7 separate regions of the Homo sapiens genome follow, and all the other regions are linked to region 5. Evidence: promoter capture Hi-C in 16 types of primary human blood cells and fetal thymus (Javierre and others, 2016). All regions are on one chromosome and are shown on one strand. Each heading gives the region's core, a stretch centred on a gene start or on the middle of the fragment in contact. The rest is flanking DNA. Distances are from core to core; before and after follow the strand shown.

Region 1 (2,938 bases), core at 226-2,725, 910 kb before region 5:
GCACATGGAATGCATTAGATAAATAATAGATGTGCTCCCCTTCCTGTTCCTGCTGCAATGGCCTCCTAAAGCCTTTGTAAAAAATAATACTGTTATGGACTACTCAGGTTTAAAAAATGTGATATATATTTCTATTTAGCTCCTGCCCCTTCTGATCTTTCTCTAGTAATGTCTGGGAGCTACTGTATTCGATGAAAACAGAACTCCACGTCTCCAAGGCTACAGGCCTCCTGAAATGGAGAAGAGACCCCAAGCAAAGTGGTCTTTCCAGGAGACATCAAGTGCGGTCATCACAGTGACTCTCCTCTCATCTCCTCCTCACAGCATTGGACTTGCCTTTAAGATCTCCAGTTTAGAACAGCTTCAGCTGGGGGATGGCAATGGGGAATGGGATGGAAGCCAGAATTTGCTCTCCTAAATCTGGCCCGAGCGATAGAAGGCATCTTTGGCCTGAAGAAGTGTAATACAAAGAAAATCCTAATTGCTACAGCTAAGTAATTAGAAGATCCAACCTATATATCATAGTGTGGCCACCCCTTTAATTATGTGCACAGTTCGGTCGGTGACTAATGCATCTTCTTTCCTAGATGAGCGTATTTAATATCCTGTGATGGCAACAAGTTTCAAGCTGATTTATCGTTATTTTGTTTGGTCAGATGATTTTCCTGCATTTTAATGTGTTTTGTGGTTACATATTTGCTATGAACAAACAATGCTTTTCCCAGGTAGTACGCTCTAAAATGCTGGCTGCACGATTTGTTTACTATTCTTTTAGGCCTCTGAGAAATCAAAAAACATTATGTACTTATTTTTGAGTAGCTGCACTAAAATCTTAAACAGTCTCCTTAGAGCCCTTCTTTCTCTGGCAGTATGTACACACGCAATAAAATATTTGAAAAATTATCAATTTCTTTGAGTCTCATTCTGACACCTGGATAGGAAGTTTTGATATGAAACTCTAATAACCATATGACCAGCAGCATCCACTAACCGTGAGATGGTATCTGACTTCAAAGGTGCTAAGGACAACACATTCTAGAATGCACATGGTATTACATTAGACATGCCACTGAAATTTTAAAAAGTAGTAATAATAATAAACAGAACATTTTAAACATACACTCTAAAGGCTTATGCTCAGATCCAGTGAAGTGGTGGAAAGACTCCAGGCATTGGAATCAGACAGACTTGGGTTCAAATCCCAACTCTGTCTCTCATTAGCTGGGTGGTGCAAGGTGACTTTGTTTAACTTCACTGGAACTAAATTCCAGTAAAAAAGGAATCAGCTTACCTTCTTTGCACAGTGTCTCTGAGGATGAGAGACTTTGCCTAATGAGGCCCCCAGCCTGGTACCTGGGATACAGTGGGTGCTCAGTGAGTGCTAGCTCCTATTGTAATTGTAACCCGAATACATTTGGGCCTTCCTGCTCACAGAATCCAAAAGAAACACGAATCAATTTTGAAAGCCCTGGTGGTAATGTGTACATCCTTGAAGCACTCTTTCTTGAAAGGCAATAGAGGGGAAATTGCACACACACACACACACACACACACACACACACACACACACACACGCAGCCAAACTTCTAAAATAGCCTCTATTCCTCTCTCTCTGAAGTACCCCAAATTATTTTTCTCCCTTTTTAATTTCAAAACTCCAGCCCCACACCAGTTCCCCAAAGCCTCTCTTGTCCCTTTGGCTCCCTTCTCCCCACCCCCCTCAGGGGCTGTTTTCCAGCCAAAACTCAGCCCTCCCTGGCACAGAGAGAGTCTCCTGCTCTCAGCCCTGCGACTCCATCCCTGGCCTCATCTCAGCAAAAGCAAGACAAGGGGCTGAGCAGAAGAAAGCCTTCCTCTTTAGAAGGAGAGAAGAGAGAGGCCAGAAAGTCTCATGCCCTGTATGTGAGAGGAAACACTCTCAGGTTATGTTCAACAGAAATTATTTTAAAAAGCAAGCTACGCGATTAGAGTGTATGCTCTTTTTTGGGTTGTTGAAGAGAAGTGAATGATCGGAAAGTAAAAGAAAATAGTAGACCAGGGAAGAAGGTGAGAATGACAATAGAAGGGTTAGGGGGCTGCAAAGGGGAGGAGAGAAGAGAGGGATACATTATGGGGAGGCCTGAGAGTCACTGGCCGCCTGGGAGCCGATGGCTGTGTCTTCTGCTTCCATAGCAAATTGCTGACTTGTCCGGAACATTTATCACTTTCTCAGCGCTTTTATGTGGATTGATTTATTTTCACAACAAATTTATTTCTGTGTGTTGATTTGTTCTCACACTCACCCCAGGAGGTAGGAACTTTAGTATCCCCACCCTACAGATGAGTCCACTGAGGCAGAGCCGATCTCAGTGACTTGTCTGAGATCCCAAAGCCAGAACCCAAAGTCAGGCAGCCTGGCCCCAGGGCCCACATTCTTAACTGCAGTGTTATCCAGCAACCCAGGTCACAAAGAAAGAAACACAGGAACGACTTCAACACTGCAGATTAGCCTGCACCACCCGAAGCCTTTTAGGAGAAAAGAAAGGAGGCCCGTGGCTGTGCAACTTGTTCCCCAGAGGCCAAAACTGTTCTGGAACGTGATTGGTCCTTGGTAAACATCTGGGGACAGACAGACAAGTGTGTCCAGTGGGACGGGAATGAATTTTAGCATGAGAGGAGAAGGGTAGGGATCTCTCTGCCACCATGCAATGGAGAATTTTCACCATGCAATGCAGAATTTTCAACATGAAACCCTACTATTGGCCTATTTAAAATTCTACTACGAAAATGACAGAGTTTTCAATAGGAAACCCTACTATACTGGATAGGCCATAGTAGGGATTTGGGTTGAAAAGTAACCAACCAGCCAGAAAGACACAAAGCTAGCAAACGTTTCATGGTGGTTTGGGGTAAGTGGAAGTTGCTTTTTTTTGTTTTTCCTTTTAAAAATATGTCCTGA
Region 2 (3,215 bases), core at 124-2,623, 790 kb before region 5:
CTGCATCCTCCACTTCCCAGGTGCAAACCATTCTTCTACCTCAGCTTCCTGTAGCTGGGACTAGAGGTGTGCGCCATCATGCCCAGCTAATTTTTGTATTTTTAGTAGAGATGGGGATTCACCATATTGGCCAGGCTGGTCTCAAACTCCTGACCTTGTGATCCGCCTGCCTTGGCCTCCCAAAGTGCTGGAATTATAGGCATGAGCCATCACACCCAGCCGACTCAATTGATTTTAAGTGGGTATGATTATATATATATATATATATATAAAGGTAACAAAATTATGAATAAATATATGATTTACATTTATGTATGAAAGTACCTCTTCCGCCCCTCCACTGCCTTTCTTTATGAAGAGATTGCCTCATTTTTTCCTAGATATTTAGGTTCAGTAATGCAAACTTCAATGGATAATTCATTTGTGTTAAGCTTTAAAAATTGAATATATTAACAGAATAAATATTTAATAGCAGAATTTTCATATAAATATATTGTGGTATAGTTTGACTTTAAAAGCTTTAACCACATATAAAAGATATTCTACATATGCACATATAGATGTTAGCCCACAATGTTAAACCAAGTACCCATACATTTCTTAGATATTTGTAGTCCTGTCTTCTTGACATCTATATTAAAACTTAATTAATTGGCAATTGTTGCCTCGTGGGTTAGATACTTCGTTTAGATAAATTTTTCACCTGTGGCCAAATTGCCATTCCTAGGTTTGTCTGTGTTGAGATATATCATAAATTATGTTTTGATTCTAGCCAAAAGGCAACTTAGAAGCACACCAAGGTGCTGCAGGCTATCAGTAGCTCCTCTGTGCCTCCTGCCACTCCTATAGTATGGAAGACATTCTAGATAAGTCAAATAAAGGCTACTCTTGAGTCCAGCTTAAAACTTTTCAAAAAGCCTTAATACTCAGACTCTATTTCATGAGATTGCTTACTGACAAAGTGGAATGCTTGGGTCTTGTACTTGGGTCTGAGCTTGAAGAAGTATAATGCAGTCTGTAGCCTTATAGAGATAAGCCTTCTCTTTTGCAATAATGGTATCCTGATATTTAGGTTTAATAATAGGAGCACCTTATTATTTATTGAATGACTACTATATTCTAAAAACGTGGCTAGGTATTCTATATATATGTTCTTTGACTCATCATAATCTTGCAGAGAATGTGGTTTTATTCTCATTTTATTGCATGTGTAAGATAACTGCAACCCACAGAGGTTTAGAAACTCACTCAGGGTTGCTTAGTTCATAAGTGGAGGAGCTAGTCTGAACCTAGGTCTGATCCTGCCAGCTGTGCTCTTTGTGAGCTGCTGTGAACTTACAGTCTTTAAGGAGATGGGAATGTTTTACTAAGTGTTTTGAGTGTATTTGGAATATTAATAAGTTCTTATGGAAACAAAGTTTGGGTGTACATGGAACCAGGAGTTTTTCAGAGCTAAAAGAAGGTAGTACATTTTATTTAAATAAATTGTCAGAAAGAGAAAAGGGCTAAAAACAAAGCTGAAAATGTGATAGAAACCTAGAATTTTTATTTCTAGGAGGGTTACTCATTCAAGCCAGTCTTCTTATTATCTTTGAGGAAACAGAGGCTTATGAGTCAAGTATGTCATTTACCCAGAGCTTTGACCACATCTCCTGTCTTCTAGTCCTGTGCTCTTTCCACTGTAATATGCTATTACCTTTAGATTATGATCTTAATGGCTGGGGGAATGGACAGGCAAAAGAATGGAAGCTGTTAGTGAGCAGGTTGTTGAGATGAATGGTTGGAGCAGGTCTAGTTTGATTGCTTCCCTGCGTGAGATTGGATAAGTTCTGAGTTGAGGTATCAGGCTATGCAAGAATTTGTAGTGCAAGGAAACTTGTAGTTTGATATTAATGTTTTATACAAATAGATTTTGACACATACAAATATGTGTCAGTGACATTTGAGGCGATGGTTAATATTCTGCACAGGAAAATGAGGCTGTTGTATTTACATTTTTTAAAGAAAATAACTATTTTCAGTAAAAATTAAATAAAGTTCTAGGTGCAGGTACTATTTTAAGCTCTGGGAGCCCAAGATGGAGAAGATACTCTCCATGCCCTTGAGGAATGTATATATTCTAGTACCAGGATAGATGTATATATAAATGAGTACAATACGTGTACCTTTTTTTAACCATAGGGGCATTATTACTTCAATATTACAGTTGTGAATTCTCTGGAAGCTTCTCAGAGTAGTTGGTATGTAATAAATGTTCCCAGTTTGAGTGGGGTCCTTTCACTATGAATGCAAACATGGATGACGGCAGTGTGAATATCAGCTCAGTAGCACAGACTGAACAAATGTCTTCTATGTAGAAGGAACTGGGCTGGATTCTGGGACACACCAAGCCGGTGACACACAGCCTGCTCTCACTGAGTATAGGACTCAAGAGGGGAGAATACACAACTCACTGTAGTGTGTCAGACAAGTTAGGTGCTGAAGGGACACAAGGTACAGCAACAGCACAGAGTGGAGAGCCTGGTGTGGGGTTTGGGGAGGGTGATGGGGTCATAGGAATGTAGGGCTGAGGAGCTCTGCGTAGATAGAGAAGGTAACATTCGACGTGAGCCTAAAGGGATGATTAATATTTTTCAAAGAGAAGCACATCAGAGGCACAGGGAACATTAGGAAAATGGTAAATGTGACCAGAGATTAAAAAGCATAGCTTTTTAATTGCTGAAGATGGGGTTGAGAAAGCATCTGGGGACCCCATTGTGAAGGGAGTGGGATGTTATTCAGAGGGAATATGAAGTAATGCTTTAAGCTGGGTAATGACATGATGCCTGTTTCAGAAAGAGAAGACTAGTTTGGAGATGGTTATAATATTCCAAATAAGGGATCACGTGTCCCTGAAGAAGCACAGAAGGAAGAAATGAGAGACTTTTGCCAAAATAGAGTTCAGATAGGAGCAAGGGGTTGGAAGCATTGAAGATAACTGAGGATTCTATCAAGGGTGACTGAGGAGGAGGAGAAGCAGGGCAGCAAGTGTTGGGCTTGTTACAGACATCATGAAATTGAAGACCTTGCCTTTGTAGGCCTTCAGTGTGAAGATGATTAGCAAGTAGCTGGAGATGTAGGTATTGGTACAGGGGAGAAGTCAGGTGTTTCTAATTATTTAGAGAGCTAAACCAGCTCATAGAAAGTAATTGAAGCTCCAGGACAGAGTAGATTAC
Region 3 (3,336 bases), core at 596-3,095, 890 kb before region 5:
GAAAGAGAGAGAGAGAAAAGGCAGAAAACTGAATCAAAAAAAGAAAACAGCATTAGCTTACCATTGGAAGTAATAAAAATTAGAATTAAAATATGAAAATTAGATCAGTAGAGAAGATAAAATGAAGTCATATAAGCTGAATATATAGCAAAAAGTATATAGAACTGGAGGGTAGAGAACGGATCCTAGGTGGGTGATAGGAGTTCCTGAAGAGAGGAATATGTGTGCACATGAGACTATAAATTGAGAAGGCTATAGAGTTGATGTGCTATAGACAGGGACTAACACTGAAATATAGCTTCATGAAAAGAAAAGGGATATTCCTTGTTTACAAGTAAAAAATTGAGGTTACTTAGAAAGGAGAATAAACTGGAGAGGGTTTTTATCCTTTCCCATTTAAATGATCAAAATTAGACATGGTGGAATCGCATTTCAAGGAGAAAGAATGTGGCTAAAGAATGTGTTTCATTCATAAAGACAACTGAGTCAGAAGTTCATATATTCATTTAACTTAGAGCGCTCAGGAAACATGGAGGGTTTTGAGTGTGATGTTAGGGCCAGGGGTGGAGTTGGGGTTGGGTAGCAACACGGAGGCTGGAAGGATGGGAAGGGATCATCCAGGGAAAGGGGGTAGAGTAGGAGAGTGCAGAGGGATGGTGAGAAGCAAGGCTGGGTGGGCACTTGGTGGACAAACCACATTAAGGACTCTTGACTCTATCCTGAGTACACTGGAGAGCTACCAAAGTGTTTCAACTAAGAGGATGAGAAACAGTTTTACATTTAAGAAATCCTCTGGATGTGCAGGGGAGAATAAATGAAATATGAATAAAGCTTGGTGGGAGAGGGATGAGTAGGGACCTTGTTGCCGTTGTTCAGACAAGAAATGATGGTAACTTGGACCGGGGTGGTGGCAATAGAGTTAGAAAGAAGCAAATGTACTTGAGAGATATTTAAGACACAGATGGAAGGAAAGGAATGGAAGAGTGTGAAGTTGAAGTTGATACTGATGTTTCTGCTGGAACAACTGGACTGGGGAATTCAGAAGAAGCAGCAGTTTGGGGGAAATTTTGGGCACATGCCAGGGAAATATCCTGTAGGCAGATGGTAAAATCAATGGGTTTGGGCTGCAGATATAGATTTGAGTGACTTCAGTATGAAGAGAATGATGATGTCATAGAAGTATATGCAGTTGACTAGGGTCAGTATATAGAGTAAACTAAAAGGCATTCTCAGAATAGCTGTCTTAGAACATGTAAAATTCACAAACCCTTTTTCTTAAAGGATGTTGGTGGATGTAACAAGCATAGGTTAATAGATGGTGAAAAGTAAATAAGCAACACATATTAAGAAAAGCGTTGTTACTGATAAGTTTAACTAGTTGAAGCTACCACTGAACTAAAAAAAAACTCTTTAAGTCAAGAAAACTGAAGAAGCAAAATAGAGATATTTCAGGATTTTAGGTTAAATAAATGAAAAAGTGAATGAATGAAGGAAAAGGAGGGAATTTCAAAATGCCAACAGTCTTTGTCTGCCATAAAAATCAGTCCAAAAATATTAACAATAAATATAGTCAAATATAGCATTAAGAATGATTATCAAGTGTTTTCGGTAATAACTGTACCTATCCACAGAGATGTGACTTAACCTATAGGCCAAAAAGGGAAAATGAAATCTCCAATCAGAGTAACCCTAATGTATATCAGATATACACAAGCTAGAGGTAGGGGCTTGTTTTGTTGTGGTAGGTGTTATTGATAGTTCCATTTTACAAATAGGAAACTGGAGCTCAGTGAGGCTGAGAGATTGAATTACATTGTTGATTTTAAATCTGATGACCTTTTTACTTGTGTATTTCATGAAAAATACACGACATGATAACTGTATTAGTCCGTTTTCATACTGCTGATAAAGACATACCCCAGACTGGACAATTTACAAAGAAAGAGGTTTAACTGGACTCACAGTTCCGTGTGGTTGGGGAGCCCTCATAATCATGGTCTAAGGCAAGGAGGAGCAAGTCACATATTACGTGGATGGCAGCAGGCAATGAGAGAGCTTGTGCAGGCAAATTCCCATTTTTAAAGCCATCGGATCTCGTGAGACTTATTCACTGTCATGAGAACAGCACGGGAAAGACACCTCCATGATTCAGTGATCTCCCACTGGGTCCCTCCCACAACACTTGGGAATTATGGGAGCTAGAAGATGAGATTTGGGTGGGGACTCAGAACCAAACCATATCAATAACAAAAGACAAATCACATAGTAGTAATTATTCCACTGCAATAATGACCATCCTAAGCATTTAGAGTACTGCCTGGCACATAGGGGTCTTCAAATAAGTAGGTTTCAAATGACTGGTTTAATTAATTAGCTAATTAATTAAAAATAAACATAAACGCTCAAACTTGCTTGCATTAAGAGGCAAACTATCAAAATCAATTATGTAATTCAAGAGAAGAGACACCTTAAAAGGAGCATAGATATACACAAATATAGTAAAACAAAAGCACAGGAAAAGAGGTATTGCAATGGAACAAAAAGAAAGCAGGACCCAGGTAATTAATAACAGTAACATGGACTTTCATGTAACAAAGTATGAAGGAAGACAAGGATAAGCCAAAGACAAAAGACAATTAACAAAGGCATAAAATACTTAAAAACAAAACCTAAAATTAATACCAAATAAGTAGACAAAAAGACTTCGAGGAGGTTAAAAAGATAAATAATGGAGGAATTAATAAATATGTGTTAGATTTTTGTTTTATAACCATGGAACAGTCCTTGTTTGTGTATCCTCAGAATATTTAGAAACTGAATACAAAATACTTCCACAAAGAAAGATCTCAATAAGCTTTAAATCACCAAACTATAATTTGTTAAAACTTCACTAAATATCTCAGGATTTATATATACATTAAATATACCCACAAGTGGTTTAAGAGCAGACAAGAAAATAATGGTAATTTAAAAACCCATATAGATATAAACATGTATACATTCTAATAACTGAATTTAGACTTTTAAATTAGATGCCCCAATTTTAAGAAAGACAAAGTGGCATAATATCTAATTTTAAGATTGTAGACAAGACAGAAAAGAATAAACTGAAGCAAATAAGTAGAAGAAAATAATAAGGGTACAAGCAAGAACAAGTAAATTATGAATATAAACTGGAAGAGTTGATAAATTAGAGCACTCAATCTTTTAAAAGATTAATATATTAGAAGAACCTCCAGAAAATGTAATTGGGAAGAAAAGTTGAGAAACAAAATTCTAAATGAGAAAAATATCATAATAAAAATAAATGTAATATTAAAATAGCGATATTATGCC
Region 4 (3,015 bases), core at 331-2,830, 850 kb before region 5:
TGAAGATCACTGTGCTGGTGACTCCAGGCCTTGTCCAGCTTTGGATCTGTGATCCTGTGGTCTGCCCCTTGAGGACTCCTCTCAGCCAGGAGCTGCCAGTCTCCCTGTGGGTCCCTGATTTGTTTACAACCTCTCGGCAGCAAAACGACTACAGCAAATCTGGACAATACTGTTGAAAATTATCTCAGGGAAGAAGCAAGAAATAAGATAACACTATTCCTCCTTAGTGCAGCTGTTGAAAAGTGTTGGTGATGCAATAGACAGGGCACCTTTTAATGTCAATATTTCCAGTGAGGCTGAATGAAAGCAACTCTACTATGTGGCTTGATTTGCAACTGGTTTTTACAAAACAACAACAACAACAACAAAGCCATTTAACTGGTAAAAATCATTTTAAAAGAAAAACATAATACCTAAATCTGGGCGAAAAATATAGCATTTTTGTGGTGCGTATAAAACTTTGGCATAGAAAATAATATATAGCTGAGTTGATTCACAAAATAAGCCTAAGAGATCTGTTATATGTTATAATTATCTTAGAATCTTTTGTACAATGGGAGCATGAAAACCCAACTCTCTGTGCTGTCAGAAATGTTTTCTTTCATTTCTTTTTTTTTCTCTTTTTCTAATCTTCCTTAAAATTTTGGTGTGAATTAAACTCACCGAGGAGGAAACCAGTGAACATCTTCTGCAATGCAGTTATGAAAATAAGAGCGGAGTTGTTATTGCTCCCATCTGGGACGCCAGATGTTTGCAGACTGGTGTGGGAGTTGCAGCACGTTTCTGACCCCAAACTGAAGACCTGGTTAAATGTGTTTAAAATATCCCCCTTCCTGCTCCAAACATGACCATGCAATCGAGTAAGAACAGAAACAAAAATATGAATACCTGGCGTCTGCTAAGAAGGCATGGGAAATAATCACTGGCAAAGACTGAATTAGAATCTGGTTTTATCTATTGTTTGTAATACAAAAGGAGGGCAGAAAGTTCTGCCATGCAGGCTTTTGTTGTTTTAATAAAACCACACCCTGTTTTACTACTGCTGAAAGCAGGAAGTCCAATAGAGGAAGCTTCCTTAGAGCTTTTGTCTTGAAATGTCAGAGATAATATAAATTTTCTTTTATTCATGTATCTAGAGGGTCAAGAGTGGACACATATAACAAAACTGAAAATACCCCATAATCAGTTGTAATATATCTCTGTCATTTGTTTAAGGCCAAGTGGTCCACCCATTTATCATCTTAACACGAGAGCCTGAAGGAAATGCTCTCATCTGGGATCAGTCTGTTACCCATCATTTGTTTATTCATAATCTTAGGAGAGTAGGGCTCCCTTTGCAGGCTCTAATGAGGGAGGATAGGGAAATGAGAGGTCTAGCGGAGGACTGAACTTCTGCAAACAACCTCTGGACTTCTAGAAGTTTCTTTTAAGTATGAAACATTTGAGAAATGCTCCTCATAATATATGTGCAATTTGATAGGTCTATAATATGATTAGTTCTTCCAAGTTGAGAAAAAGCATATAATAATTATCTTGACCCACAATAGCATGAAATAGTTTTCATGACAGTTTGATGACAAGGATATGAGGAAAGAGTTTCTATGCCATAAAGATCATGCATCTCCTTAACTCTGTTGACAGTAAAATATGGATTTCAGCTTAGCCTGCGGCTCAGGAATACACTTTGTTGAAACAGTAGTTTTATGTCTTTCTTTTCTAAGACCAAACAGGATTACAGGTATGATTTACTGAACAAAAACTTCAAGGATTTAAAAAAATAATAATTGAACTTTAAGAAAACAAATAAATTAGAAGATAAGACTCTGTATCATATTAGGATTAATAAAGTTCTTAATGTTTATATTTATAACTGGGTGCTGGTGTACCTCCCTTCTAAATTTAGTCATATAGCCTACATAGATATTTTTGATGTTAATAATTTTTACATATGCTAAATAAAATGATTAATTTTATAAGGCAGGTAATTTACTTGTACTGTACAGAATAATTCCTTAATGTATCTGCTTCGAAAGTTTGGATTTCTATGTGTAATCTTTTCTTAGAATGACCTGAGTATGTCATAAAGCTTCCGTTTTCCATCCCTTGTGATTTAAAGTCAATAATTAAACATAGATACAGGGAAAGGATACAAATATCCTTGTTTCCTTGCCTAACAGCCTAGAAATATCTGCAGATTGCTCTAGATCCCATTTAATGCAAAGGTTTTGTAATAAAGTTTTATTAAAAGCTAAAGTTTAAAAGACTAAGTAATTCTTCTAAGCCACAATAAGGTTTTCTCTCTTACATAAATAGAATGTTAATTAAATCTTTACATAATGTATACACAATATAGCAAGGCAGTTGTCTACCTCCGTTTCCTCATGTGTGAAATGAAGAATTTTAAAATTCGTACCTAATAACTCTCACATTTCACAGTTGTAAATAGTTCCCAGCAAGTAGAGAGAAAAATGATTGAAAGAAAATTTGTATGTATGCGTTTTACAATGGGCTCTGGGCCTCAGAATTGAAATCTTCTCTCCGTCATACATATTTTCTGGATATGGACGTGCTGTCAATGTACAGAATGCCAGTGGACATTTACTTGTTTATAATCAAGGCGGTGGGGAAGTATTTCTATAGGCTCTCACAGGCTCTGCCCAACAGACTATTATTTTCATCTCAAATTTTAAGACGGAGAGGCCTGTTGCTCACTTCCCTTGTGGATAGAGCCGGGAATGAGAGCATGACATCCAAGAGCTTAACTACCAAATCTGAAACTCATTCGGGGGCTGTCCTCAACAGATGTCTTAGTGAGAGCTCCTAAGTGGAGCCAGGGAAGGGTGGAAGGTTAGGTCACACTGCAAGGAGAGAAGTAACTTGCCAAAGAGTCAGCGCCAAAAGCAAGAAAAGGCCCCTTGGATTTATTGCTTGGGTGTGGGGTCTGGTTCTTTCTCTGGGGTCTGCAGAACAAGCGTTGCCTCTGGCTTCTTCCTAGAGGAAACCACTGACTCTTGG
Region 5 (3,116 bases), core at 273-2,772:
GCACGGGTTCCCGCCCCTCCCCAGGCCTCCGAAAAGCAGGAAAGAAAAAACAAATCCCATACTTTTCTCCCGGGGCGCGAGGATCCTCTCGCCTCCAGAAGAGGGTGGAAGACTAAGAAGCCGCGGGTCTGGACTGAAGGGGCGCAAAGTGGGTGGTGAACAGGGTCGAACGCAGTCGAAAGCAAGCCTGGCGGCCGAGTCCTGTCCGCGCCCCTCGGAGCCAGGACGGTTGGGGGCATTGCCGAGGGTACCAGGAGCCTGGGGATCCCGCGGGCTCTGGGCTCCGCGGCGCCGGGCACGCACAGCCCAGCCTGCTCTGATTCGAGCGCACTGGGGGACAACTTCTCCGTTCGCACCCCTTCCCAAAGGGTCAAGCGGCCCGCAGGCCATCACTCCAAACCAGTCGTAGCTTCGGAGACTGGGGATCGACACCACGCCCGGCCCCGCGCCGCCTAGTTTCCCAACAGGGCGCGCTGGCCCGCGAGCCGGAGGAACCTCCGCCCAGGCCTTGCCAAGCGCCCACCCGGAGCAGGCCGGGGGCAGTGAAGGATGCGGCGGGAGCGGCGCGCTGCAGTTCCGCGACGTGGCACGTACCTTGGAAGCGATGACCCAGATATCGGTAGCGGTGGATGAGCCAGGGGTAGAAGGTGGACGGATCCCGCTGCTGCGAGGCGAATAGGGGGTGTGGCGAGTGCGAGGAGGGTAGGGGGTGGGCGGCCAGGGCGTGCGGCGGCGGCACCGGGTGCACTGGCACGGCGGGGTTGGGCGGGTGCGAGACCGCCTCGGCGAACACCAAGTCCGGGTTGGAGTAGACGCCCCTACCGGCGGCGGCGGCGGCGGCCGAGTGGAAGCCGTTGAGGAACGGATTTATGGGGCTGGAGTTAGCGTAGCTGAGTGCCGCGGGACGGATGGGGTCCTCGGAGCGCGAGGCGGGCAGGGGACTGTCCTTGGCCACCAGCGACTCGATGGTGAAGCAGCGCTTGGGCGCCGGCTGGAACATGCTGCGCCGAGGAGCGGGCGCCCTGGGCTCCCAGCTCCTGGCGACCGCCGCACGCTGCCTCCGCCGCCCGCTGCCCGCGGCGAGGACGGACGAGAATTGGGGACTCGTTTGTTTGGGGTGGGGGTGGGGGTGGGGGGAAGGAAAGGAAGAAAGAAAGGAAAGGAAAGGAAAAAGGAAAGGAGGGGGGAGGGAGAGGGAGAGGCAAAGCCGAGGATCCCGAGAATCTTGCACCAAACGCGCCCAACCTGAAGAGAGGGGGGAAAATCCTTCCAGAAGAATTTGCAGGCGTGGATTGGGGTAATTTTTTTTCTTTTTTTTTCTTTTTTTTTCTTTTTTTTTTTTTTTTTTTTTTTTGGCGAGATGGCGTGGGGGGATCGGAGTTAGAGGCAGGGAGGAGAAGGGGGGAAAGTTCTCGGGGGAGGCAAAAAAAAAAAAAAGTTTTTTCTCCTCTGCAAAAGGCGGGCAGGGCGCCCTAAGTCCAAGGACAATCCATGGAAGTGTTCGCTTCTTCACAAGTTGTGCAAACGATTTGTTAGTTCATGAGCCTAATTAGTGCGGGGATCACATAAACAGCTTCCTCCGAAGCCTGGTAAATGGCTTGATGATTGGTCGCTATTACTCGCCCTGAGGTGGAAGGGGGGAGACTCTTTAAAGTGCGTCAGAGGGAGGTGAGCGCCTGGGAACCCGGAGGCCTGGATCCGGGCCGAGAGTGGAACGGAGTCGGCGCCGCCGCCTCGGCTGAGCCTTCTGCCGCCCACCGGGCGGCCGGGCTTCTCCGCGCCTTCGCCCCTCGCTCCCAGCTCACTCGCTCCTGCGGCGCCCGCTGCGGCTTCTCCTCCTCCTTCGCCTCCTCCTCTTCCTCCAGTTTCTTCTTCTCCTCCTCCTCCTCTTCTTCCTCCTCCTCCTCTTCTTCCTCCTCCTCTTTCCCCACCTACTCCCCCTCAGCCACCGCCTCCTCCTCCACCAGCACCACTCCCTCCGGGGCACCCCGGTCCCTGCAGAGTCCCTGGCCGGCGCCGCCTCCGCTGCGGCCCCCTGAATCCCGAGCCTGCCTCGCCCAAGCTGGTAGGACAGAAGGACAGACAGATTCCTCTAGCCTAGCGCTCCGCCGCTGCTGCCTTACGCGGCCCCGCGTCGGGAGAACTGGGATCGCCCCAAGAGCACCGCGAGGGTAAGCGGGCAGGGGCTGGTTCCCGGGCTAAAGGCGCCGTTCGGTTATACCAATCCCCACACTTAGCAAAACTCCCAGCGGTTTCCTAGGCCAGGAGGGATCCTGGAGTGAGGGGTACGGGGTCCTCCCACCCCATCAACCACGCTTAGCCTCGAGGTCCCAGGGTCGGTGCGTTCGCGATTCTTGACCCGGCTCGTTCGTTTGCGAGTTGAGACCGGGAGCTGCCGACCCCGCCGGAGCAGTGGGCTTCCAACTCTCTCCCTCTCTCGCCCCACGGTCTCTAGCGTTTTCTGTCTGGGAGGGTGCTCACCTCCTTCCCCAAAACAATTCCTTCTGGAATATCTGGGACCGGCAGTCCAAGGTCAGGGGAGAGCCCGATATGGTGCTACTGTACTATTAAGGTTCCGTCGTAATTATTTTTGTCAGTGTGGTCAATGTTATTATTATTATAGATGATATTATTTTATTATTATTATTTCTATTATTATTATTATGCCATCTGTTGTCCCGGGGTTGGTGGGGGGGTGGTGGTTGCTGTGCAAACCCAGTGCAACTAACGACTACGGATCGCATCTCCGGTCCCGGGCCGTGTCCGCATTTTCGAGCTCGCCTTCGGTTTTGGGATGATTTTAGGACCGAGTTCCCTCGTCCCCATTGGCTCGCGCGGCGGCATAATTATGATCACATCCCCAGGCTGCTGGCGCTGCTCTCTGTTTATTGGTGGTTAAAGATCTATTATCTATTCATCAGCCGCCTCTTTTTTCCTTTTTTTCCTTTTGCCAATTACATTCTTCTAAAGTGAAGTACCAGCAGGTATTTTGCACGTTTACAATTAATGATAAAAAAAAATTCTAGCGTCGTTTAAAACTATTACTCCCAGGCCCCTGTCATTTCTCCTAAGAACGCAGAATTGCCTGTGTTTGGTGACTAGGTTGCCGTGAAACC
Region 6 (3,294 bases), core at 266-2,765, 870 kb before region 5:
CCTTATCTCTTAAAGTGTTACTGAATAACGAATAGTTTGAGGACCATGTTTATTTCAGCTCTGGAAGTAGGATCTGCCACTCAGGAGAAACAAGATAGATGTTTCAAACCAACAGCAGTGATAAGCGGCCCTGTGCAAATAAATTTGCATGAGGGATGCTCTACAAACCCTCTCCATAGGCACCATGACACCTTGCAAGGGAAAACTTGTGCTGGAGAAAAGTTGGAAGCAGTATGACACATAGAAGAGAAAAAAACCCTGACCAACTTCCCCCACCCCTTATAAGCAACAGAAGCAGAGGCCCCATTTGGCTCAGGGTCTCTAAGTTCTGTTCAACATAAAAGCCAGACAGCTGTGAAAGTCCAGCCTGTAGGACAGAGTCCCGGAGAGCCATAAGAAATAGCACCCATTGGACAAAGATATTGGAGTCATCTGCATAGTTGCCTCAGCAGTGCGAAATCACTCCTTGTGGAGGCAGACATTTGGAAACAGATAAAGCCCATGAAGAATGCCTCTTTTTGACTTCAGAGATGAATGTAGATGTGAACACATTACTGCTGTTTTAGGGAGGCTCTTCTCTGTTACAGATAACCGGGATTGGGAATATTGGATTACCTAATAATGGCTCGCTTTAGTTCTGCCATCAGCACTTATCAGGTACATTAGTTTAAAACCTGCAATTTTGAACTCAGCATTATTGAGCTTTCCAAAGATTAAGTTACTGAACTTTTGTTGGTGAGTGTCTCTGCGAAATTTCCTGAAAAGGATAGTCCTCCTTCTTTGTGTGAAAGTGAAGCCAAATCACATACTTTATTGATATTTATAGACATACAAATGATAGAGCTAATGTACTTTAATGCCTGCTACTTGATGGAAAGGCTGTGGGCTGTGCTTTCGGGCTTTTGTTTTTCTTAAGATAATGTGGAGTACTGTAGTCTCTTTGTGAGCCTAATCAGAGCAGGTAGCTTTTTTTCTTTCTTTTTGTTTTCCCCAAAGCCTTATTTCAGAAAAAGGCTTACACCAAAAGTCTATTTCAAGAAAAGCTCTGTGTGTGCCCCTGATACGGGCACGGTCTTTACAGTGTTCTAGCACCAAAAAATACATCCCTATGTCTCCTTACTGGCTTAGGTGGAAACCGTAGGAACATGGAAGCTTTAACAAAGGCAAGTCGATTTTAACACTCTGTACTAAAAAATACCTACACTGAGGAAGAGAGTCTTAATCTCCCAGCCATGAAGATTTAATGTTTTCAGAGTAATTTTACAGACATTCTGCCTGTCAAGGCCCAGTACGGTTTAGAGTTCTCGAGTCCCCACAGGCTTAAGCATCCAGGCATGAACCAACTTTGTAATTTTTGAGCCAGAGGAATAAATGTTGATCCGTGGTGGCTGAGCAGAATTAAGAAACAATTTACCTGCCCTCTCTTTAGGGAGTTTGCATACAACTTCTGCTCATTAGAGGTGACTTATAAGAAAATTTAAGGAAAAGACAGAGCAACTGCCCCCACCCCAACACACACACATGTACACAGACACACACACATAGACACACACACACACACACACACACACACCCCAGTTCAGCCTTCAGGTCCTTCACTGTCTGGAAGCAACAGAAACAGGGGCCCCATTTGGCTCAGGGTCTCTTAAGTCCTGTCCAACATAAAAGTTAGACAGAATATCCACCAAAATTGGTAATAAAGTCTTAAATTTCTCCGAGAAAGGAATGAATATGTAGGAAAAATCATAAATGGCCTGCATGTACTGATAAGATGCTGGAGAAAGAGGTGGGGTTTGTTAAAACAAAAACAAAAATAAAAATCCGGGGTCCACCAAAGTCTGTTTCTATTCTGGTGGTTCTGAAAATTCTGAAAGCTTAGATTTCTGGGAGTCATTGGTAAAATACATTTTTGGTCACTAGTGTTCCTATGATAGTCATAGTTAAAATATATTTTTAACCTGAGCAACCTCTAGGGCTTTGGTTATATTTTGATTTAAAAAATTAGATTGACTGAAAAGTTTATGAGAAATATAAACATCAGGCAAAGATAAGTAATATGCTTTATACCTAAATTTGTCTATTGCAAAAATAGCAGAGCTCAAGCTATTTCGTGTCATTATCCTAATCCGTAAGCATTTAGCAACTTGTGTCAATGGTATTTGCCTCTCAGGTCACACAAAGAAATCTATCTTAATAAAGTCAGAAAACTATAACCTGTTTCTGCATAATTTCTAATATCCTGGTAGGGGGTTCAGTTTCCATTTCATCAGAAGATATTTTTAGTGGTAAGTTGCTTTAAATGGTGAATCTGAAAGTAATACTCTTAGTATCCCACTGGCATTAGACAGAAAATTCTGAATTCTCTTTCTCTGCTGTTTTGGTTCTGAATCTTAAATTTGGATATAAAAGGAATCTTGCTAGGGAACTCTGTTTTCCTGACCTGAATTAGAATTTAGTATGGGCTGAGATCTCCTCCCTGGTAGACACTCCCAACTTGTATTTCTCACTGGTATATATCCAAGTGTCTATTACACAGATTCACTCCCAGGTGTGGGAATGTATGCAAATACCATCTCCAATCTTACAAATGGTCTGGCCAAACTCTCCAAAGGGCCCGTGGCTTCAAATGGGGCATTAAGTAAATGGTTCATTTTATTTTTTATTCAAGCTCAGGAGACTTAGGCTTTTTCTCTAGCCATTTAAACCACCTATGAATTAAGACAATGAAAGGAATCGAGTATTTCTCTTTAAACAAGATACACTGTTGTCAGCTGCAGAATAAAGTCAGGAGTTAGATTTTGCCTGGATGCTGAATTCTCCCAGAGCACAAAGGGCGTGTAGAGGACAAATGGGTGTGGGGACATTAATGGAACATAGAGTTCCACAGTTCCTTCTCAGAGACGTGACTCCAGAGAGGCGAAGAAAGGAAACGCCAAGAGTGAGAGGTCACCCCGATAAGTACAAAGAAGTCGCTTCCAGCACTTTCTCCCATTGTGCCTGTTACACTTATTGGTGTGAATAATGTTGTTTTGTTTTCAGAAAGACAGTCATGAGCAAAAAAAAAAAAAAAAAAGAACGGTGAGTGATAAGCCAAGCTCAGGAAATTTGAGAATGACACATTTGTGATAATATATGTTAATTTAGTTGGAGAGATGTGAATATTTTCTTAAAGAACAAAGAGAAAGACAGACTATAGCTTAGAGTCACTCATTTAGACTTTTATACAGGCATTACCCATGTTCAAAATGCACAAATCTCCTCGGAAACAGTTTTTTTTTCCCCCAAATACATTTT
Region 7 (3,089 bases), core at 173-2,672, 750 kb before region 5:
CCACCCAGAGGTAACCACCATTCTGATCCTAGAGGGTTTTGCCTGTTCTTATGCTTCATATCAATGAAATCTTGAAATCTGAGATCCTTTTGTGTCAAGCTTCTTTTGTTCATCTTATGCTTGTGAGATATACTCATGTTGTGTGTGACAGTAGCACTCATTAATTTTTTACATAGATAAGCCAACCTTACTTTCTAATCACACTTTATTAGAAAATAAGTTTATATATGTATATATTTGGTAAAATTAATTGAGGAATTTAAAATTATGATGAGCTAACATGTCTGTTTAGAATTTGTGTTTCATTCATAGTTCTTGAGCTTTGAATCACATGGGCATGGTGGCTTTTACTCTAGACTGGAGGTTCTAACCCCAGAGCCTTCAGGCAACAGACAGATAACATAAATAACATAAATGAGAACATGTGTGGAGTAGGGATTTGTAGGCCAGGCACAGAGGCCCAGTATTACCAGGTCTTCTGTTTTAAGGAGAAACCAAATATACAGATTTGAATAAAACCTCACTAATTCTTCACTTTAAAAATTTTTCAAGAGGACTGTTGTTTTAAATTTGCTGGCATATATAAACAATCCACAAATCTGTTAATTGTGCCTGTCCTATTCTATCCTTTTTTCCCCCTAGGCTCTTTGCTTACCCATTAAACTAGTGAACTCCACAAGATTGTGATGATGACGGCAACATAGTTCTTAGATTTCTCCAAATCTCCACATTAAAGAAAAAAAAAGTCATAGCAACTAGACACCCAAACCATGAACTCCAACATTCAAGTGGTTGGGGAAAACTTTTTGACAACTTCGAGACCTGCCTATAATTGGCATCTCTGCAGGAGAAAGCAGAGGTAAGCAACAGGGCATCTGAGAGATCAGAGAAAACTTCCAAATAGCCACCAGGTATGTGCTGGAGAGCAGGATAGCTTCAGAATAGACACCAGATATGCACGGGGAAGCAGAGCAACACAATTTGGGAACAGGTAAAACTGAAAGGGTGGGTGCAAGACACCCGCAATAAAACCTTTAGGGGCTGGAGCAGCCGGGCCCCTGTGAACTCTCAAAATGGAGTCCACAGAGCTCCTAAAAACTGAGAATGAAGTGAGTAGACTAGGGATAACAGAGATGAAGAAGGAAAGGGAAGGTGCAGGGTACAGTTACAGAGGGAAACAGCCAGAAATTCACAGAAAGCAAGCCAACATATTTATTCACTCACACGCGCACACACAGAGAGAAAGAGAAAGAGAGAGAGAATATTCAGAACCCTGTGAAGTTAGAAAAGCTCATTGAGCCAATCTTCCTTCTACAAGTTTAGGAAAACTAAAGTCACATGTAGATAACAGCAAAAATATGCCACATAAAGTTAAAAGAGAATAAGAAGCCAAATGACATTCCTACAGGCAGTGAAAAAAATATAAAGCTCACAGAAATTATAATGCACCCCTTCAAAACAGGCTAAAAGACATTAGAAAATGACATGGGCTGTGAAAGAACAGCATAAATCAGAATTAGAAAAACTCAGGAATGAGGCGACAGAATGCAAGAAAAAAACTACAGAGAAAAATAATTTTAGAAGAAGAGTAATCCAGAAGGAACAAAGAGGAAATAAATGGCAAGTAATATTTTAAGAGAAATAGGGAAGGAAAAGAAGAAAAATTTCAAAAAAAAAAAAAGAAGACAAAATATAGATAACAGAAGTACCGAAGAGGAAATCTAATGCAAGGAAACAGAACAACTACTAAAAACTCTGCTTCAAGCAATGTTTTCAAAAATCAGAAAGAAAATGATCTGAAAACACATGTTGAAAAAGCATGCTATGTACCTGAGAATGTTACCCAGAATAATGAACACAAAACCATACTGTAATGTAATTACTGGGTCTTGTCCAACACCAAGACAAATTGCAGTAAACTAGTAAAATTGCTGGTAAAAAAAAAAAAAAAGGCATCTCTAACAAAAGAGCCTGTAACTTAAAGGGGAAAGAAAATTAGTTATCGTTAGACATTTCAAGGCAATGCTTTGGGTCATAAGAAAATAGAGTAACAGAGTGGCATACTTAAGATACTCAAGAAAATGTGAGCCAAGGATTTTAATTTATCAAAACTGATCTTCAGATACAAAAATAATTCATACATGAACTATTATTATCATGCAAATATATAGGGAAAATTATTCCATGAACTCTTCCTAAGGAATCTAGTAAAGAATGAACTTCAGACTGAAGAGACATTGATGTGATCTCTCTGTTCCCATGGAGACCATGTCAGACATGGTCATGACTGATAGTGAGCACTCTATACATGGAGACGTGTGGAATTGAGAATAAAGAGCAAAGGACATTTGTAATATGTACTAGCTCTATGATCTGACCATATATATATAGCACAGACAAAAAGTAGGAGTTGGGGGGAATGAGGAATATGCAGGAATAAATCCTGGCAAGTCATTAGGGAAACGTAAATCAAAAACACAATGAGACACCAGGTCACACTCACTTTAATGACTATGATTAATAATAATAGTAATAATAATAATAATGGACAATAACAGGTGTTGGTGAAGATGTGAAGATACTAGAACCCTCATATATTGCTAGTGGGACCATAAAATGGTGCAGCCACTGTGGAAAACAGTTTGGTAGTTCCTCAAAAAGTTAAAGAGTTACCATATGACGCAGTAATTCCACTCCTGGGTAGATACCAAAAGAACTGAAAACAGGTGTTCACCCAAAAGCTTGTGCATAAACATGCATTGTAGCGTTATTTGCAACAGACAAAAGATGGAAACAACTTAAACGTCTGTCAACTGATAAGTGGATCCACAAAGTGCAGTATATTCATACAATGGAATACTATTCAGATATAAAAACAAACTAAGTGCTTATGTATGTGACAACATTGATGAACCTCGAAAACATTATGCTAAGTTAAATAAGCTTGATACAAAAGGCCACATATTGTAATGATTCTATTTATACAGTCCAGAGTAGGCAATTGCGTACAGACAGAAAGTAATGTCCAGAGGAAGAGGAATCAGGCATGGGGACTTAATTACTAATGAGTACAGGGCTTTTTTTCTTTT

What was found. Contacts are between HindIII fragments. The CHiCAGO score rates a contact against its expected background, and 5 or more counts as called.
Region 1: a fragment that was not itself captured here is called in contact with the fragment with the promoter of EMX2 in region 5 in 2 of 17 cell types (non-activated CD4 T cells and endothelial precursors); the score reaches 6.6 in non-activated CD4 T cells.
Region 2: a fragment that was not itself captured here is called in contact with the fragment with the promoter of EMX2 in region 5 in 1 of 17 cell types (M0 macrophages); the score reaches 5.2 in M0 macrophages.
Region 3: a contact is called between a fragment that was not itself captured here and the fragment with the promoter of EMX2 in region 5, in 1 of 17 cell types (endothelial precursors). The highest score is 5.5, in endothelial precursors.
Region 4: a contact is called between a fragment that was not itself captured here and the fragment with the promoter of EMX2 in region 5, in 2 of 17 cell types (endothelial precursors and M1 macrophages). The highest score is 6.0, in endothelial precursors.
Region 6: a fragment that was not itself captured here is called in contact with the fragment with the promoter of EMX2 in region 5 in 1 of 17 cell types (endothelial precursors); the score reaches 7.0 in endothelial precursors.
Region 7: a contact is called between a fragment that was not itself captured here and the fragment with the promoter of EMX2 in region 5, in 1 of 17 cell types (activated CD4 T cells). The highest score is 5.2, in activated CD4 T cells.

Annotation. Positions count from the first base shown.
Region 1 is chr10:118,454,998-118,457,935 of GRCh38, reverse strand. No RefSeq gene overlaps it. Among named protein-coding and RNA genes, the nearest start is that of LINC00867, 99 kb to the right of the region's middle. The HindIII fragment of the contact is 4,127 bases long and covers 1-2,938 here.
Region 2 is chr10:118,328,900-118,332,114 of GRCh38, reverse strand. The region is part of intron 6 of FAM204A (family with sequence similarity 204 member A); the gene reads left to right. Among named protein-coding and RNA genes, the nearest start is that of FAM204A, 12 kb to the left of the region's middle. The HindIII fragment of the contact is 1,706 bases long and covers 521-2,226 here.
Region 3 is chr10:118,434,775-118,438,110 of GRCh38, reverse strand. No RefSeq gene overlaps it. Among named protein-coding and RNA genes, the nearest start is that of LINC00867, 79 kb to the right of the region's middle. The HindIII fragment of the contact is 2,023 bases long and covers 834-2,856 here.
Region 4 is chr10:118,392,765-118,395,779 of GRCh38, reverse strand. No RefSeq gene overlaps it. Among named protein-coding and RNA genes, the nearest start is that of LINC00867, 37 kb to the right of the region's middle. The HindIII fragment of the contact is 1,016 bases long and covers 1,073-2,088 here.
Region 5 is chr10:117,541,152-117,544,267 of GRCh38, reverse strand. EMX2 (empty spiracles homeobox 2) reads right to left here and starts at 1,522. Exons shown (of 3, transcript NM_004098.4): 1 at 595-1,522. The coding sequence starts at 1,000. It also overlaps EMX2OS. RefSeq lists an enhancer at 1-307. The HindIII fragment of the contact is 6,949 bases long and covers 1-3,116 here.
Region 6 is chr10:118,412,741-118,416,034 of GRCh38, reverse strand. No RefSeq gene overlaps it. Among named protein-coding and RNA genes, the nearest start is that of LINC00867, 57 kb to the right of the region's middle. The HindIII fragment of the contact is 722 bases long and covers 1,155-1,876 here.
Region 7 is chr10:118,291,492-118,294,580 of GRCh38, reverse strand. No RefSeq gene overlaps it. Among named protein-coding and RNA genes, the nearest start is that of FAM204A, 49 kb to the left of the region's middle. The HindIII fragment of the contact is 2,642 bases long and covers 102-2,743 here.